Regions from separate parts of the Homo sapiens genome. Here region 2 is linked to region 1. The links are contacts of gene promoters, found by promoter capture Hi-C in blood cells and fetal thymus (Javierre and others, 2016). All regions are on one chromosome and are shown on one strand. Each heading gives the region's core, a stretch centred on a gene start or on the middle of the fragment in contact. The rest is flanking DNA. Distances are from core to core; before and after follow the strand shown.

What was found. Contacts are between HindIII fragments. The CHiCAGO score rates a contact against its expected background, and 5 or more counts as called.
Region 2: a contact is called between a fragment that was not itself captured here and the fragment with the promoter of FAM111A in region 1, in 1 of 17 cell types (fetal thymus). The highest score is 7.6, in fetal thymus.

Annotation. Positions count from the first base shown.
Region 1 is chr11:59,138,544-59,144,425 of GRCh38, forward strand. It overlaps FAM111A (FAM111 trypsin like peptidase A), which reads left to right and starts at 4,313. Exons shown (of 6, transcript NM_001312909.2): 1 at 4,313-4,403; 2 at 4,540-4,761; 3 at 4,954-5,152. It overlaps FAM111A-DT (FAM111A divergent transcript), which reads right to left and starts at 4,265. Exons shown (of 4, transcript NR_110184.1): 1 at 4,072-4,265; 2 at 1,414-1,624. It also overlaps the pseudogene LOC100422399. RefSeq lists an enhancer at 4,081-4,530. The HindIII fragment of the contact is 3,476 bases long and covers 2,429-5,882 here.
Region 2 is chr11:58,923,409-58,929,290 of GRCh38, forward strand. It overlaps a transcript of GLYATL1 not described here. Among named protein-coding and RNA genes, the nearest start is that of GLYATL1, 13 kb to the right of the region's middle. RefSeq lists an enhancer at 3,959-4,473. The HindIII fragment of the contact is 4,843 bases long and covers 775-5,617 here.

The sequences.
Region 1 (5,882 bases), core at 3,063-5,562:
ACTAGGAAGAAGTAAGCCACTGTGCCTTTTTGCAGTTAGATCTGAGAGGCAGCCATCATTCAATAGAATAAGTTTGGCTTCTAGTTTCAGATGGGAATACAAATCCTCATAAGGATGTTTCTGCACAATTATTTGCTAAAGCTTTTTGTGAAATGGCGAAGATAATCTCACCTTCCCCACAGGGTTATTGAGAGTATTAAATGAAACAGACACATGTAAATGCCAAGCTCAGAGAGGAACTCAAAGCAGTACAGCAGCAGAGGTCATTTCCCTCTACACACTCCCTGCTGCTTCCGTGGGCAGACATAAGTGTTAGCCAGGCCAATGAAAGCAGTTAAGCAGCCAAGTTGGACTTTGCCAAGGGATCCCACACCACCACCACCCCTTTTAAAGGTTACTACAAAAGTAATCTTAAGAAAGTTTTATATATAATAACTGTGATATTTTTAACTTGATTGCACATCTTATCAAACAGGTATTGATTTTCAGTGCTTTCAATGATTAAGAATAAGGGCAACAAAAAAGAAAATCTGTGTATAATATGATGAACCTGGAATTTTTGGTTTCATACGTGTGTGTATATATATGTATATTTATGTATATATATATATATACACACACAGAGCAGTAATGGCCTTTAAAATAAATTCAAATAATGATAGAAAACAAAACATCTTCATGCATGGTGTAATCTTTTTCCTACAAGAAGGCCTTGTTTTAAAAATGTGCATAAGGTTATGCTTTTGCATATTTTATATAATTTCTTAAAGGTATGTTATCAAATTAATGTTTTCCAGCCAGGGTATCATATTTAAGGGTGATAGTAAATACTCCAAACACACCAGCTGTCACAAAATAATTATGCCTATGTCTATTATTGTTATCTGTTTCTCATAAAATTAATCATAAATGATATGAATTATTGATTAAAATTAGTGTTTATAGACTATAAACCTATGAAAAGCCACAAGAGCAGTATTTTTACATATTTTTCAAGAATTCAGATAACAGTGTAACCTTTGATTATAATAACAGAATTCATTTCTGTAGCAGAATTACAAATACAGCAATTATAAATATAAATGATACTCCGTTAAGTCCATCCTGCTTTTAACTGTGCAACTATTTACAGCCAGAGGCAGGAATAAAAAAGGGTGTATACGTGTGGAAGAAAATTCACTCCATGCTGTTTTTGACCTTGCGTGTAAAAAATAATTCATTACTATCAAAAGAGGCATTTTCCCAAATAAAAACAAACAAGGAAACAAAAACACAGGAAAAAAAAAAAAACTACTTACTGACCGTGACTTAAGTGTGGAGGAAAAAACCCTTTGCAGCTAATGTTGGCAAAAGTGTGTCCCCCGTAGATTTAGTCTAAGAATTAAGAAACTGGCCGGGCGCGGTGGTTCATACCTGTAATCCTAGCACTTTGGGAGGCCAAGGTAGGCGGGCTGCCTGAGTTCAGGAGTTTGAGACCAGCCTGGGGAACATGGCGAAATCCTGTAGTCCCAGCTACTCAAGTGGCTGAGGCATGAGAATCGCTTGAACCTGGGAGATGGAGGTTTCAGTAAGCCAAGATCATGCCACTTCACTCCAGCCTGGGTGACACAGTGAGACTCTGTCTCTAAAAAAAAAGAAAAAAGAAAAAAGAAAAAAATAGCCTGTTTAATGAAGCATTGACAAGGAACCCAGGCTATGATTATAGAATAGGAGCTTCATAGTAATTGTAAGAACTCTGGTTCTTAGAAGACAAAAGTTAAATTTAATAAATAAGTTTAATGGCCAAAATATCTTTTTAAAACTTGTTTGTAGTCTTTAGAATGTGAATTTTATTTGGTTTAGATCTTACTAAGCTATATTTTGTAACTGAAATTAATACTTCATTTTTGCCTGAAATTAGTAGAAAAAACAATAGCTAAAGTTTGCTACAGATAAATAAATGTCAATATTAGACTTTTTTTCTTTTGAAAAGGTAGGGAACTTTAATTAGTAATATAAGTTAAGAAAATGACAAAGATGTCAGATAATGAAGAAAAAATGTGACAGTAATCTTTCATCCAAAAAAAGGTTATGTTCCTATTGTCTAAAGCCAAAATATATTTCATTGCAAATATATATAAAGTTTAAGAATTGTTATTTTAGGCCCTTTCCGCAATAAGCCAACACATAACTTATCATGCCATAAATGTTTTTAAAAGAAATATGATTAAAATTATACAAAACGACATAAAAATTTCAGAAAGAATATTGATAAATATCTTGGTACATAGTAGATTTAGTTGCACAGATATTAGGTGGTACAAGTTTTATATCTTCTATAATAATAACTTTTTATTATCTCCTTGTGCACTAATATTTCAATATGTCAAAGTCATTTGAATAACCTTTCTAGTAAATCTCAACTTCGTAGATTGAAAACTTTTTTAAAAGCTTTATTTAAGTTTAGTGGTACATGTGCAGGTCTGCTATATAGATAAACTCATGTCATGGGGGTTTGATGTACAGATTATTTCACCACCAAGGTATTAAGCCTAGTACCCATTAGTTGTTTTTCCCGATCCTCTCCCTTCTTCCATCCACCACCCTCCGATAGGCCCCAGCGTCTGTTGTTCCCCTCTGCGTGTCCATGTGTTCTCATCATTTAGCTCCCACGTATAAGTGATAATATGCAGTATTTGATTTCTGTTCCTGCATTAGTTTGCCAAGAATAATGGCCTCTAGCTCCATCCATGTCCCTGTACAGGACATGATCTCATTATTTTTTATGGCTGTGTAGTATTCAATGGTATACTGAGTTTTCTTTATCCAGCCTACCACTGATAGGCATTTAGGTTGATTCTTTGCTATTGTGAACAGCGCTGCAAGGAACATACGTGTTCGTGTGTCTTTATGAAAGAATGATTTATATTCCTTTGGGTACATACCCAGTCATGGGATTGCTGGGTTGAATGGTAGTTCTGTTTTTAAGTCTTTGAGGAATTGCCACACTGTTTTCCACAATGGTTGAACTAATTTACACTCCCACCTAGTATATAATCCTTCCTTTTGGAAACAAATTTTATCAGTATATTCAATTCTGAACACCCATGTTTTAGAAAATGTTAAGCCTATTGTCCTTTAATCACTATTTGCTTACACATTAAAATGTAAAACAGGCAAAAGAGAAAGAAGGAAGAAAGGAGGGAGGGAGGGAAGGAGAAAAGTGAGAAAGAAAGAAAGATAAAAGAAAAAAGAAAGAAGAAAGAAAGAAAGAGAAGAAATAAAGAGAAAAAAGAAAGGAAGAAAGGAAGGAAGGAATGAAGAAGAAAAGAAAAAAGAGAAAGAAAGAAGGAAAGAAAAAGAAAAAAAGAAAGAGAAAGAAAGAAAGAAAGAGAAAGAAAGAAAGAGAGAGAGAGAGAGAAAGAGAGAGAAAAGAAAATTTTCTCCAGATTAGAATTATTGGCTGCTATTGTTTGGATGCTGGGTACTAGCTGTGATTACCCTTTGTGAATGTAGGAATGCACAGATTCCAAAAGTGAGTCTCATAGAAAAAGTCAGCATTCAAATATGTTTTAAGGTTACTCTATCCAAACCCCAAAGAACCCACAGAAGATGAAGCAGTAATTTTAGCTTCTCTTGGTGTATTGTACATGCATTTAAGGCCAGTTCCTTCCTTCAAATTCCCATGTGTTTTGTAGTTACCAACACACCTTTCAACCCTATCTGTTTATATACATCATATAGTCCTCTGTCAATTGCATAAAAGTTGTCCCCTTTGTGACTGTAATCGCCTTTTCCAATACACATCTACTCAGAATGCAGGTCCTTAAACAGCAGGCTGCCTTGAAAACCCTCTCCAATCTTCTTCGATCATCAGCTTTGAGATGCATATTCCTAGAGCCCATATCATCTTCTTCATCACTATCATAAACGTCTCCACATATTGATGAACGTTTGGAGAATCGATTTATGACAAGGGAGTTTACTCTTCCTGCATCCGCGGCTTCTTCGTGATTTTGTCCTAGTCACCGGGCCTATCCCACCTGCTGGGGATGCCGCCCCCTCGGAAGTGCCTGAAATCTCCCCACTTACCCAACTAGCCTCAGCGCCTCCTGTGTGCTGCAGCAGATGGCGCGCTGCAGACCCCAGCCTGGTGCCTCCGCGACTCCTCCCCAACCATGATTTACAGGCGGGGACAGCCACATTCCTGCGCCCCAACTTCCACCTCCGCTTCCTGCGCGCGCGAGACTCAAGCTGCCACAGTGGCTCTGCCGCCAGCGTCCCAGCTCCTCCCACACCCGAGTTTTTATTTCCTGCTCCCTCTCCAGCCCGGCCCAGGCCAGCCTACCGGCGACTAGGATGCTTTCGCTTTCGCTCTCGCTTTCCAATACTCGGGACTGGGGAAACCGGGAGAATAGAAGCAGGCAAGGACCGCCGTGGGCACGGGGTCAGTGAGACAGGGTCCTGCTCGCGGCGTCAAGGAGGAGCGCTGTGGGTGGGTAGGGTAGGCGCGCCCCCTCGGCCTTGCCTTTCCAACCACTCTTTTTTGCACGCCAACAGGTGTCCCCAGCGCAGCCAATCGGCTTCCGAAGTAGGTGAGTTGCTGCCTGAAGAGAAAAGACAAACTCCAGTATCTTTCATTCCATTGGCCAGACGCGCCATTCCCCAAGTGAGTTCTGTTCTCCAACCAAAGTGCTGGATTCCAAGGGACTGGAAGGGAAAGTCCCTAAAAATCACGAGTTCAGGCGTCTGAGACTTGGTGGGAACGGACCTTCCTCTTAGGTGAGTTACTCTTTGGTTCTGGGGCTGACCTGGAGTTTTGCCAGGATTCATTGGCCGCAGCAGGATGCTGGTGGGGACAGGGTAAATAAAATCTGCACTCCTGCGGGCTTTTATTGTTGAAAGGGGCACTGACGCTCTCCCTGGAAACTTAAAAAGAACAGCCAAGTGAACGGATGTGTCTTTCTTTTGCAGTGCCCAAGCCTGTTCTAATTTTTAAAAACTGATGTCTATTAAGACCCAATGTTAACTTTATGAAAATGGTTCCTAAGGAGATTCACATCTCTGTGTCCGAATTCTGTGTGCAGCAAACATCATCTCAAGTGCGTTTTCCCAACTACGCTTCTTTCCAGGATAAAATACTCTAAGTGACAAATGTTGAGTACATTATCAGGTATGTTCACTATTGTGAGAACTGAAGCCATCTACACTCACATAGCTTGCCAACTACATTAACCTGACTTCTTATTCCATTATTTTCATCAACATACATTTACTATTTCAAGAAACTTTTGCCAGGGACCGGAAAGTTGCAAATATCTTTATTGCTTAATCCAGTATCTTCTTCAAAGATCCAACCACTCTTCAATGGAAAACATCAAAGAACAGTTTACATTCTAAGACTTTGAACCTTTACCTCAAAATCCTAGCCTTGTTTTATCTACCAATCCTAAACTTTTACCCGTAGCTGACTCAATTCTAACCAATTCCCCTCATTAAATATTAGACTTACAATGGGACTTCAAAATCTCAATACATATAGCCCAAACTTGCTCTTCCCTCTCTGAGACACCACTTAAATTCTGTCAAGTTATTGTTCTCCATTACCTAAGTGAGCAAGAAACTTAGCTTTGTCTTATCAACAGGTTGCTTTGATATTACTGGGAGCCAACATTTGACATTCTTGGAGGCTCCAGCAAGACCTAATCAACCTCCCAACCCTCAACTCAGAATCAGTGTGTGCCCTGAAGTCCCTTCAACCTTCTTGAGGCTCTCCCTGATCTCAAAGGTGGAGAAAGTAGATCTTGCATCAGGTTGAACTCCAGTTTCTTTTTGCTCAGTTTTTCAAGCGCTGAGTTTATTTTGTCCCTAGGCATAAAGAAATCTTTCTAGGAACCCCTTTG
Region 2 (5,882 bases), core at 1,946-4,445, 220 kb before region 1:
GTTTACACCTTACGGAAATGAAGTAGTGGCCCGCAACCAGTTTGAATGGTTGCGGGAGGGGACCAAACAGAGGTACTTTCCCTTTTTCATCTGCAATGCAGTGGAAAGCGGGAATTGGTGGCATGATTTGCAAAGGGAGTAACCTCTGATCCTTTTGTTACTTGATTGTGGAGAGGTGGGATTTTCCTTTTGATTGAGTTCTAGGAAGTGAGTGTGAATCATCCTTAGGTTCCCTGCCTCCAGATCCTGTTCTGCCTCACTCCTTCAGATCTGGGGCATCCCTCTCCTTGCCAGCCTGCCCCTCCCCTTGGCTCCCAGGAGGCTCCTCAAGGCTGTCTTTGATGACTCAGGAGAACCTGAAGTGGGGAAGGCAGCCAGGTCTTGTTTAAATTCTTACAATATATTTTAAGACAAAAGTCTGGCATATCTTGTCAGAGTTTTCTACATAGATTACCTGTCACCTGTGAATTAAGATAATTGTACTAATTTCTTTCTTATCCAGAAGCCCTTTTATTTCTTTCTCTTTTTTTAATTTCACTGGCCAAAACATCCAGTGAGGTATTGCTTCTCACAAGATGGCATTAGCTGTGGGGTCTGTCCACAGACCCTGACCCAAACGACCTATGAATAACTCGTACGCTGAGACACTGATACTCTGTTTTGCCAGTCCTGCTGAGTGTCCGACCGCCTGCACACCAAGAGAGGTTTGTCACTGTGGCTGGCCCTGAGCAGCTTGCACTCCAGGCATTTATTTTGTATAGAATTAACAACAGAAGCTTTGAATAAACACACTTATGGATAATTAACATGGTTGATTGTAGTTCTACTAACGATTAAAACTCAGGTACCATGGTTTAAAGTAAATTCCATTAGGGGGCAATATCTTTGGTCAATCTCACCCTGAGAGGGCCATCTGGCTCAAAGATTAGTTAGTGGAGGTAGGGTAATCAGACTTAACCGGGGAAGCCTCTATTGTCCCTAGTATTTACCCTATGACCTAATGCTCTAAGGTAAGAACCAGCTGCCTTCAGCCTGTTTAATTATTACAAGCTATGTAACATTTTGGCCTTCCAAAAAGGTTTGTAAACTATTCCCTGTTGCTTTCCCTAATGTTTCCCTTTAATATTTCTGGCACCATTCTGAGTGAATCCCAACATTTCCCCGTTTTTGTTTTCGGTATCATGTCTTTTTGATTTCAGATTGCAGATATGTACAGCCATAGGATTGTCAGGTGAGGTGGTCACTGCTCTTATTCCGGCTTTGCATCCTAGAATTAGCAAATAATACAAGACAATTATGAGTACAATTAGCAACATTTGTTTCCAGTCTAAGAGTGACCGGTAGTGTTACCTGGCATCTTAGTTTGGTGAGTACTGTTGCTAAGGAACCCCACTGAGGGTATGTTAACTCCTTCCAGCCAAGCAGTTATGTCATTAGAAGCTGGAAAGGGAGTATTTGTTTAAGTAAAAGGGCTGACAAAAGGCAGATTCAGAAGATGAGCTTAATAGAGTGTAGCAGGTATAGGTAATAGGCAAAGTGAGAGAATTAAAAATGAGTAAATTATTTGGCTTAGCCTTCTGCTTCCTTAGCATAATGTGTGAGGCCTGTGCTGTTCCTGGAAGCCACATTGTTGAGGCTGTGGGTCCTTAGGGTTTTTCCTAGGCTGGCTTGAGTTTTTTTTCTTTCCATCCTTGGATGAGGATACAGTCTCCAGGCTGGTGCTGGTGTACTGGAAATTCTAGGGGTGGTACCTGTGCTAAGAGATCTTTATAATCTTTAAAGAGCAGGATAGTACTTCAAGAAAAACTTGTGCTTCATTTTAATGTCTAGTTTACAGAAAAAAACTGGATACTTTTTTAAATTTAGCCAATATGTTTACATATAGAATTTTTTACAATTAACATTTTACAACTTGCTTAGACTTTCAAAACAAAAATTATACATTTCCTGCATGAATCCCTTTTATAACATTCTTCACGACTTTCACAGACAATTTTTGACATGCCTTAACTTTTTAACTCTGTTTTGTAATCTTCCTTACTAAGGGTGCATTCTTATATTAATAACTTTTTAAATATTTCCTTTTCCTTCTTCCCACTTTCTTTCCTTAGTCTTTCTTTTTGTGTCTCTTTCTGATCTGTTTCTTCTAGTTTCTTTTTAAATCATTCTTTCCCTTTATTTCTCTTTCTAGGGGTGGACATATGCACACATTCTTTCTCATGTTAATAATTTATTTGGACCACACCATTTATTACTGTTCACATTTTTCCATAAAACTGCTGGTTTTATGCCTTGAGAGGTTTTAGCAAAGTGTTTTTCTACAGCTGATTGAAATTTGTCATCTGAATTTAGAAAATTATGGGTAAACAAGGTTTGTGCCAGTAGTGTTGCAGGGTCTTTACCTATATTCCCCTTTTTCTGATTTTTTACTATTGCTTGACCTTTGGAGTTATATGGGATGCCTGTGGAATGTTGAATATTCCACGTGTGATAAAATTGTTGAAATTGTCAGCTGGCATAAGCTGGTCCATTATCAGCTTTAATCTTTGTGGGCTATCCTATAAATGCAAAAGTTAAAAGATGTTTAATGACATCTTGAGTAGACTCTACAGGCAGAGCATGTGCATTAATTAAATGAGTGTTATTATCAATGGATACACACACATATCTTAGTTTTCCAAATTTAGGCATGTGTGTAATATGTTTGCCATAACTGCTTAGGTTCCAATCCTCTAGGGTTAACACTTGTTGAAGGAGGGGACGTGCCTGTGAGCTGGCAATCTGGACATTGTAGGATAATTGTTGTAGCCAGCCTCTGAGTAAGTTGAAATTGTTTAGATAAGTTTCTCCAATTTTGGTGGAAAAATTGATGCGATTGGGTGGCTAGGCCTAGCAGTGATGTCATCACCTGAAGGTCTGCTCGTTCATTGACATAAGCCAATGGGCCAGGCAGTGAGCTGTGGGCTTGAATATGTGTAATAAAAACAGGATGTGTACGTTGGTCCAGCAATTGCCGAAGTCAGAAAAAGAGTACACAGAGTGTGCACCAGAGTAAACTTAATTGAGGCTGTAAAAGTTCTTTAACAAATACACAGAGTAACCTGAGCTCTTTGAGTGCCAGTAAACCTAGATCCAGTGATTGGATTATGTGGTCTCTATTAGACTACTGCTCTTCCATGTTTACCAGACCCATCAGTAAACAGTGTTAAAGCATTTGGTATGGGGGATTGCAATACGGCTTTGAATTGCATTTTACTTAAAGGAATTTTGATGATATCGAGTCATAACTTAGCAATTGACTGCATTAATCATTAAGATGGCAAGCTGAAATAAATAACGTGAAGTTTAAAAAGAAAATCTGAAAGCATCTTTAGAAGCAGAGACTTAAATTATATATTTTAACCATGTGCTTAAAGCCACAGGCAGAATAGCTTAAATGTTGCAATGGAGTTCTCAGGCTGACCAAGTTTATGGACTTTAATCTGGAAAACAGTCTTGAAAACAGTGACTCACTAACTGGGGAACTTAATTTGGGACTCTTTTAGCAAGTATGAATCAAAGACTATCTGTAATCAGTGGGTTAAGACAGTCATTCATGCATGTTTTGGCTACACTTACATATAACTCTTCTTCACCTTTTGAGAAGGGCACAATATTTTCACCTTTTAATTGAACAAATATCATTTAATTAGGTTTAAAGTTCTCCTCTAAGGGTAATGTGTGGTTTTACATGCCTAACTTTTAATTATTCTTTAATTCATGGGCCCTCCTTAATCTCTCTCCCTTCAGAGGCTACTGTTTTACTTAAACTGGATTTGTAGAGCTACCTCGGGGGTAGGAGAGAGATAACAGCAGTGGCTATTATCTGAAAAGAGGTTTTTCAAATTCTTACATTTTACTTAAATTTTAGCAGAGAATTATAATTTGGGATGTCACTTGTAAACAAGGAGCACAGGAAATTTTGCTGTGGGCTGTCTGCAAAGCTAGAGAGTCAGGCAGGTGCGTCCTGGGGCTTTGGCTGCTTTGCACTTGTAAAAGCGCTGCTTTTTGCCTGTGCTGGCTCCCTCCCGCAGGCACCCATTGGCTGTTCCTGGCCAGGGTGGACCCCAGCCTCCCCTTGGGCTGACTTTGTTGTATGTGCCTCTCGCCCCTCCCCTGCAGGCTAGCTCCAATGGTGGCTTAGCTCTTCGTTGCCTCTGCTGCCATGTGGGCGGAGTTTTAGTTTTTTCTCACTGCTTGCTTGGCAATGCAGCTCTAGCTTCTAATGCCCTTTTTTAACCCTTTAGGTATCTGATCGCTTTGCCAATTTTGCGTTACTGGGCAGGCTAAGAGATCTTCTTTTAATTCAGCCTGCTTAAGACGGGAACTGATAACTGTAGTGTATCCTCTGCCTTTTTTCTTATCTATTGGAGGAAGCTCAGGTAAGACCTCCTTTTCCTCTCTGTTAATTCCGCCTGGTGATTAGGGCCCAGGGAAGACGAGGTGATAAGGCAGGTAATGTTTCCTCTTCCTGCCCCTTTTTAGGCTTTTCCGTGTGTGACTGAGCCAGGGCTGCTCTAGTTAAAGCCCATAACGTTAAAGCTGTTACTGGGACTTGCTGCCTTTGCAACTGATGTTTTTAAGATCTCTCCCCACTTGTTTCCCGGAGCTCTATGTCTAGCGTTCCTTCTTCTGGGAACCATGGACTTTGGGATTTAACAGTTTGCATTACAGCAATTTGTCTAGCATGCATGATTAGGTGCCTTAATTGAGCCTGTGAAACTGAAGCTCCACTAGCCTTAAGCAGCTGTTGTAATACTTTTATATAATGTTTCTGCTGTGCTAATAACTGTTGTCCCATGATGAAATCTCAGCTTGAACCAACTTTCCCCAGAACTTGGTAACCTTGAGTGGGCACCAATGACTTACTAGTTACTCACTGACTTGACCACGCGGTTTTTCTTCACCTTTGTTTCCTGGGGGCCCGTCGCATTCCTCAGGCTTCCTTTGCAGCTTTCCTCATGAAAGCGGTCCTTACACTTCCTTCATAGCTTGCCTTACAAGGGGCTCCAACTGCGGAAGGTCTGTTTCTGCAGACCCCTGACTGTCCTCACACAGCTCTCCTCACATGGGGCACCAATTGAGGTATTGCTTCTCACAACAGGGCAGTAGCTACCTGTGTCTGCCCGCAGACCCTGACCCAAACGACGGATGAATAAAATGTACACTGACACACAGATAATCTGTTTTGCCAGTCATGCTGAGTGTCTGACCGCCTGTAAACCAAAAGAGGTTTGTCACTGCAGCTTGCCCTGAGTAGCTCAGACTCTAGGAGTTTATTTAGTGTAGAATTAACAACAGAAGATTTGAGTAAACACACTTGTGGATAATTAACATGGTTAAGAGAGTAGTTCTAGGAATGATTAAAACTCAGGTACCCTGGTTTAAAGTAAATACCATTAGGGGGCAATATCCTTGGTCAAACTACCCCCAAGAGGGCCATCTGTCTCAAAGGTTACTTAATGGAGGTAGGGTAAACAGATCTAACTGGGGAAGCCTGTGTTGTCCCTAGTATTTACCCTATGACCTAATGCTCTAAGGTAAGAAATGGCTGCCTTCAGCCTGTTCAATTATTACAAGCTTTATAACCTTTCAACCTTTCAAAAAGGTTTGTGACTATTCCCTATAACTTTCCCTAATATTTTCCTTTAATACTTCTGCCACCATCCTGTGTGAATCCCAACAATCCAGCACAATGGTGAATAGAATCTGCCAGAGCAGACATTCTTGACTTTTTTCTAGTCTTGGGAATGCATTCAGTCCTATCCCATTAAGTATGATGTTACCTCTAAGTTTTTCATAAGTGTTCTTCATGAGATTTAAGAAGTTCCCTTTTATTCCTA